2 separate regions of the Homo sapiens genome follow, and region 1 is linked to region 2. The links are contacts of gene promoters, found by promoter capture Hi-C in human tissues and cell types (Jung and others, 2019). All regions are on one chromosome and are shown on one strand. The core of a region is centred on a gene start or on the middle of the fragment in contact, and the rest is flanking DNA. Distances in the headings are between cores, read along the strand shown.

Region 1 (3,582 bases), core at 634-3,133, 1.5 Mb before region 2:
CAGACACATTTTGGGGACCACGAAGGGACCATCGCCTATTGCCAAACAGTGAGACTATCACCAAGTGGTGAGACCACTGCCTATCACTGAGTGGTGAGACTGTCACCTATTGCCAAGCAGTGAGTACCATCGGACCCCTTTCACTTGCTATTCTGTCCTAGTTTTCCTTAGAATTTGGGGGCTAAATACCGGGCACCTGTAGGCTAGTTAAAAGTGATGAGCTTGGCCACTGGACCTAAAACATGGGTGTCAGGCTTTCTGGGAAAGGGCTCTCTAACAACCCCCGACTCTTCGGAGTTGGGAGTGTTCGTTTGCCTAGAACCAGCTTCTGCTTTTCCTGTGCTTCTGGGCTGAGCCGAGGGTCGACAGAGAGGAAAGCCATGCAGCTCCGGGGTCCCGACAACAAGTTGGTTGACCCTGCGGCCATGAGCAGAACTCTCAAAGGCATGTCGCCCAAGTGAGACTCACCCATCTATCCTATCTATCCTGACCCTTGCCCCTTGGGTCCTAGTGCCTGCCAGACAAGCTTCGTCCGCCTCTCTTCTCCAAAGTTAGTCGCACTTCTAAAAATTTCTCCCTGTCTCTGGTGCTTTTCTAGTGTCTCCTATAAGAATGACTTCTAGTATAAACTCCAAAACTCTGTTATCTTCTTTAGGCACCCTGGCTCACCAATCAGAAAGACATAATTTTTGCCCAAAGCCCCATCATAGGGGGTACTACCTGGAATTTTAGGATCCCTCCTCAGATTAACAGTCCTAACAAAAGCTATTCCTGAAGCTAGGATATGGGGAGCCTCAGAAATTGTATCCTTCCTATTCATATAAGTGAGGAAAAAAGGAGTAACTATTCCAACCCTGGAGATCTCTTCCCTCCCTCAGGGTATGGCCCTCCACTTCATTTTTGGGGCATAACATCTTTATAGGACAAAGGTAAAGTCCCATTACTAACAGGAAAATGCTTAGGACTCTAACAGGTTTTTGAGAATGCGTTAGTAAGGGCCACTAAATCCGATTTTTCTTGGTCCTCCATGTGGTATAGGAGGACAGGCAAGGGTGCAGGTTTTCAAGAATGTGTCAGAAAGGGCCACTAAATCAGACTTTCCTCGGTCCTCCATGTGGTCTGGGAGGAAAACTAGTGTTTCTGCTGCTGTGTTGGTGAGCACAACTATTCTGATCAGCAGGGTGCAGGGACTGTTGCGGGTTCTTGGGCAGGAGGAGAAACAAAACAAAACAAAACTGCAGGCGGTTTTTTCTTTCAGATGTGAAGCACTCAGGCATCAACAGGCTCACTCTTGAAATGCATCCTAAGCCATGGGGACCAATTTGACCCACAAACCCTGAAAAAGAGGCGGCTCATTTTTTTTCTGCACTACGGCTCGGCCCCAATATTCTCTCTCTGATGGGGAAAAAAGGCCACCTGAGGGAGGTATAAATTACAATACTAATCTGCAGCTTGGCCTTTTCTGTAAGAGGGAAGGCAAGTGGAGTGAAATACCTTATGTCCAAGCTTTCTTTTCATTGAGGGAGAATACACAACTATGCAAAGCTTGCAATTTACATCCCACAGGAGGACCTCTCAGCTTACCCCCATATCCTAGCCTCCCTATAACTCCCCTTCCTATTAATAATAATCCTCCTCTAATCTCCCCTGCCCAGAAGGAAATAAGCAAAGAAATCTCCAAAGGACCACAACTCCCCCATCGGGCCATCAGTTATGTCCCCTTCAAGCTGTAGGGGGAGGGGAATTTGGTGCAACCTGGGTACCTGTCCCCTTCTCCCTCTCTGACTTAAAGCAGATCAAGGCAGACCTGGGGAAGTTTTCAGATGATCCTGATAGGTACATAGATGTCCTACAGGGTCTAGGGCAAACCTTTGCCCTCGCTTGGAGAGATGTCATGCTACTGTTAGATCAAACCCTGGCCTTTAATGAAAAGAATGTGGTTTTGGCTGCAGCCTGAGAGTTTGGAGATACCTGGTATCTTAGTCAAGTAAATTATAGAATGACAGTCAAACAAAAGGGAAAAATTCCCTACCAGTCAGCAAGTCATCCCCAGTATGGATCCCCACTGGGACCTCGACTCAGATCATGGGGACTGGAGTCATAAACATCTGTTGACCTGTGTTCTAGAAGGACTAAAGAGAATTAGGAAAAAGCCCATGAATTATTCAATGATGTCCACCATAACTCAGGGAAAGGAAGAAAATCCTTCTGTCTTCCTTGAGCGGCTATGGGAGGCCTTAAGAAAATATATTCCCCTGTCACCTGAATCATTTGAGGGTCAATTGATTCTAAAAGATAAATTTATTACCCAATCAGCCCCAGGTGCAGATATCAGGAGAAAGTTCCAAAAGTAAGCCCTGGGCCCTGAAAAAAATCTGGAGGCATTTTAAAACCTGGCAACCTTGGTGTTCTATAATAGGGACCAAGAGAAATAGGCCCAAAAGGAAAAACAAGATCAGAGAAAGGCCACAGCCTTGGTCATGGCCCTCAGACAAACAAACCTTGGTGGTTCAGGGAGGACAGAAAATGGAGCAGGCCAATCACCTGGTAGGGCTTGTTATCAGTGTGGTTTACTAGGACACCTTAAAAAAGATTGTCCAATGAGAAACAAGCTGCCCCCCTCGTCCATGTCCACTATGCTGAGGCAATCACTGGAAGGTGCGCTGCCCCAGAGGATGAGGGTTCTCTGGGTCAGAAGTCCCCAACCAGATGATCCAACAACAGGACTGAGGGTGCCCAGGGCAAGCACCAGCTCATATCTTCACCCTCTCTGAGCCCCGGGTACCTTTAACCATTAACGGCCAGGAAATTGACTTCCTCCTGGACACTGGCATAGCCTTCTCAGTGTTAATCTCCTGTCCTGGACAACTGTCCTCAAGGTCTGTTACCATCTGAGGAATCCTGGGACAGCCTGTAACCACGTATTTCTCCCACCTCCTCCGTTGTATTTGGGGGACTTTGCCCTTTTCACATGCCTTTCTTGTTATGCCTGAAAGTCCCACACCCTTATTAGGGAAGGATATATTAGCTAAGGCTGAGCTATTATCTACATGAATATGGGGAACAAGTTACCCATTTGTTGTCCCCTACTTGAAGAGGGAATCAACCCTGAAGTCTGGGCTTTGGAAGGACAATTTGGAAGGGCAAAAAATGCCCACCCAGTCCAAATCAGGTTAAAAGATCCCACCGCTTTTCCTTATCAAAGGCAATATCCCTTAAGGTCTGAAGCTCATAAAGGATTACAGAATATTGTTAAACATTTGAAAGCTCAAGGCTTAGTAAGGAAATGCAGCAGTCCCTGCAACACCCCAATTCTAGGAATACAAAACCTGAATGGTCAGTGGAGACTAGTGCAAGATCTTAGACTCATCAATGAGGCAGTAATTCCTCTACATCGAGTTATACCCAACCCCTATACCCTGCTCTCTCAGATACCAGAGGAAGCAGAATGGTTCACAGTTCTGGACCTCAAGGATTCCTTCTGTATTCCCCTGCACTCTGACTCCCAGTTTCTCTTTGCCTTTGAGGATCCCACAGACCAAACATCCCAACTTATGTGGACGGTCTTGCCCCAAGGGTTTA
Region 2 (3,284 bases), core at 785-3,284:
TAGGAAAACTCCTTAGCTCATAAAAGATTTAGTGTTAAGAGAAAATTCTGCTTTGAGAGCTTTGAAAAATATTTATTATTATCCAGAAAAGTTAGAAAAGATCTCAAAAAAAAAAAAAAAAAAAACAGCAAAAAACAAGGTACTACGGGGTTAATTTGTAGATTGCTCTCTCTCCTCCTATAGTTTTGTTGCTTATTTAATCATTTGCAATGTGCTTTTGCTTTATACTGAAGCCCATTTTTTTTTCAGAAAAAATAAAGCTTTAAAAGTACATCATCATTTAAATTTGTCTAAAATCAACCGCTTTCAAAACTACCAACTAGAAGTAACACCTCTCTATGATTTCTTTATGCAGATTTAATTTTTTTTCTTGTTTGAATCTTAGAGACCCAGGAACTAGAAACACTTTCTTAACTTGTCCCCTAGCCAAGGCTTCACAGATACTTGCAGAATTAAAGATAAGTTGGCTTAAAACAATTGTGTAAGAGTTCTTTTGAGAAAAAGCAATGCCAGAGAAACTGAAGGCCAGGAGTTTGCAAAAGTTTTGTATTTTTATGGATGCCACTAATAAGCAAGACTGGACAGACGGTCTTGTTGTTGTAGTATCACACTCAAAGCAGCAGCATTTTACTTCTCAGATTCCAGGTGTAAGCTCTACTTTTTTATCACGCCTTCATAATAAAGAAAATCTGTTCTGGAGATTCGTATATTGATTTCTTTGCAAAGTTATCTCTAATTATGCAGGAATGGCTGTTAGTTGCCCTCAAAAACCAACACAAATACACAAACACAACAGCCTGGCTTAGTGATTATTAAGAGCTGCAAGTCTGAAGGCGGACTGCTGGGTGTGAATTCCACCTTCTCAACGCTGTAGTCTCCAGCAAGTTCCTTAACTTCTCTGCCTCCGTTTCCTTTCCTGTAAGATAGAGTCTACCTCAGGGTTAATATGAGGATATGCTTCTTTGCTAATGCTGGAGGGCGCTAGGAATAGCAGTGGCAGGCTGTGTCATTTCTCAGTGTTGTATAACGGCTTGTTTTAAAAGTCCCACTGAAAACTTTTTTTTTTTCCAGATCGAAACACAAGTTTAATAGTCATTCAGATTTCATTCCAGTCTAAAGAAACTTATAGAAATCTAATTATCTGCCAGAATAACCGCTTTAAACTGACTGTAAGAACCACAGTTACTTTGCAGCTAAAACAGATTGTTCTCTTCCCCCAAACAAACTCGGACATTTAGACAAATATTGCTGCTGTCTTTACATTTTAGAAATCAGTATTAAGGCTCACCTGTTACTGAACACATACGAGAAACAGTTTTGTTATGCGTATCTTATATACATCATGTATACATTTTCGTACTTTCACATGATGTGTATAATAAGATACACATAAAAACTGGTTGGCTTGTCATGAGTAAATGCTTTATTCTTTAGAGTGAAGGAATATTGGATACAGAACGTCGTTCCATATTTAATCTTGCTTTAGAAAATTAGGATTTATCTTGGACACAGCATTTTGAATATAACACAGGCAAGTTGAGTCCTGGGGGAAAAATTGTATTTTTAAATTTATTATCAACGGTGTCTTTCGCATTTGAGAAAACACATTTGAAGATGCCCATGCAGTTCCTTGGAAGTAAACTAGGTCACCCACCACTGAAACACCCTCGGCTTCTGCAAAAAGATGTGCTTTAAAGAGAATAGAATGGACGCTCGGTATGTTCATCTAAACGACCTTGGGCAAGTACGTCGATTCCAAGGTACAATCAGCCCTCCCAGACGGCTTTTCGAGTCTCCCTAACCCCGGTGGGAGAGGACGCGGCGCCAGAGCCCAGCTCCGGCTAGTTTTCCCGGGGGCAGGTGTAGCCTTGGGCGCGGGGCCGGGGGAGGGGCAAGGGGCGGGCGTGGGGTTGGACTGGGACGTGGGACTCGGACCACGGCCTGGGCGTGGGCCTAACGACGCGGGACCGGCCCGCCCTCGCCGCTCCATTGGCCACATCTGTGCAGAAAAGGCCCCGCGGCCCAGGGGCGCCCGCAGTGTCACTAGGCCGGCTGGGGGCCCTGGGTACGCTGTAGACCAGACCGCGACAGGCCAGAACACGGGCGGCGGCTTCGGGCCGGGAGACCCGCGCAGCCCTCGGGGCATCTCAGTGCCTCACTCCCCACCCCCTCCCCCGGGTCGGGGGAGGCGGCGCGTCCGGCGGAGGGTTGAGGGGAGCGGGGCAGGCCTGGAGCGCCATGAGCAGCCCGGATGCGGGATACGCCAGTGACGACCAGAGCCAGACCCAGAGCGCGCTGCCCGCGGTGATGGCCGGGCTGGGCCCCTGCCCCTGGGCCGAGTCGCTGAGCCCCATCGGGGACATGAAGGTGAAGGGCGAGGCGCCGGCGAACAGCGGAGCACCGGCCGGGGCCGCGGGCCGAGCCAAGGGCGAGTCCCGTATCCGGCGGCCGATGAACGCTTTCATGGTGTGGGCTAAGGACGAGCGCAAGCGGCTGGCGCAGCAGAATCCAGACCTGCACAACGCCGAGTTGAGCAAGATGCTGGGTGAGTCCGAGTCGCAGACCCAGGCGGCCGGGCGCGCTGGCGCGAATCGCTAGGCCGATTTCTTAAACCCCAAACTGTTCTTTGCGAGCCTGACGCCCAAAACCAGGGGTGTGTAGCGGCCACGTCCTTTCTTAAGGCTCTGGGTTCCCTTCCCGCTTCCCGCCCTCCGACCCTCCAAAGCAGCTTTCCGCCTTGCTCTCCGGCTCCCGGATTCCCCAGGTGGCCGGGGGCGCGGGTCCAACGGCTCTGGGAAGGCGACTTCCCGGCACCTCCGGGCGGCGCGAGAGCACCCTTGGCCCTGAACTGGGCCGGTTGTGTCCATCCCTCGACCCCTTCCCTAGTTAGGTGTCCTTTTCTGTTTTTCGAACGACCGGGTGATGGGTGAGCGGAAAGCCGCTTCCAGGAGACCAAAAGAAAGGGGTGCCTTTAGAGGACGGGTGTTCCCCAAGGGCTCGGACTCAGGAGTCCCAGATCTCCCTCTTTAACTTCACCCCGGTTGCGCAATTCAAAGTCTGAGGGGGGAGGTGCGTCCAGGTGGGGCCAGGTGGGGCCTGGAGCGGGAGCGCAGCCGATAAGCCCTGCGCCCCTCTCCCCCTTCCTTCCACTGTGCAGGCAAGTCGTGGAAGGCGCTGACGCTGGCGGAGAAGCGGCCCTTCGTGGAGGAGGCAGAGCGGCTGCGCGTGCAGCACATGCAGGACCACCCCAACTACAAGTACCGGCCGCGGCGGCGCAAGCAGGT

Evidence for each region. The method cuts DNA at HindIII sites, captures the fragments that hold promoters and counts their contacts. A contact is called where the count stands out against the background at its distance.
Region 1: a fragment that was not itself captured here is called in contact with the fragment with the promoter of SOX17 in region 2 in 1 of the 25 tissues and cell types used here (dorsolateral prefrontal cortex).

Annotation. Positions count from the first base shown.
Region 1 is chr8:52,955,115-52,958,696 of GRCh38, forward strand. No RefSeq gene overlaps it. Among named protein-coding and RNA genes, the nearest start is that of NPBWR1, 18 kb to the left of the region's middle. The HindIII fragment of the contact is 6,265 bases long and covers 1-3,582 here.
Region 2 is chr8:54,455,901-54,459,184 of GRCh38, forward strand. SOX17 (SRY-box transcription factor 17) reads left to right here and starts at 2,035. Exons shown (of 2, transcript NM_022454.4): 1 at 2,035-2,545; 2 at 3,158-3,284. The coding sequence starts at 2,239. The HindIII fragment of the contact is 11,857 bases long and covers 1-3,284 here.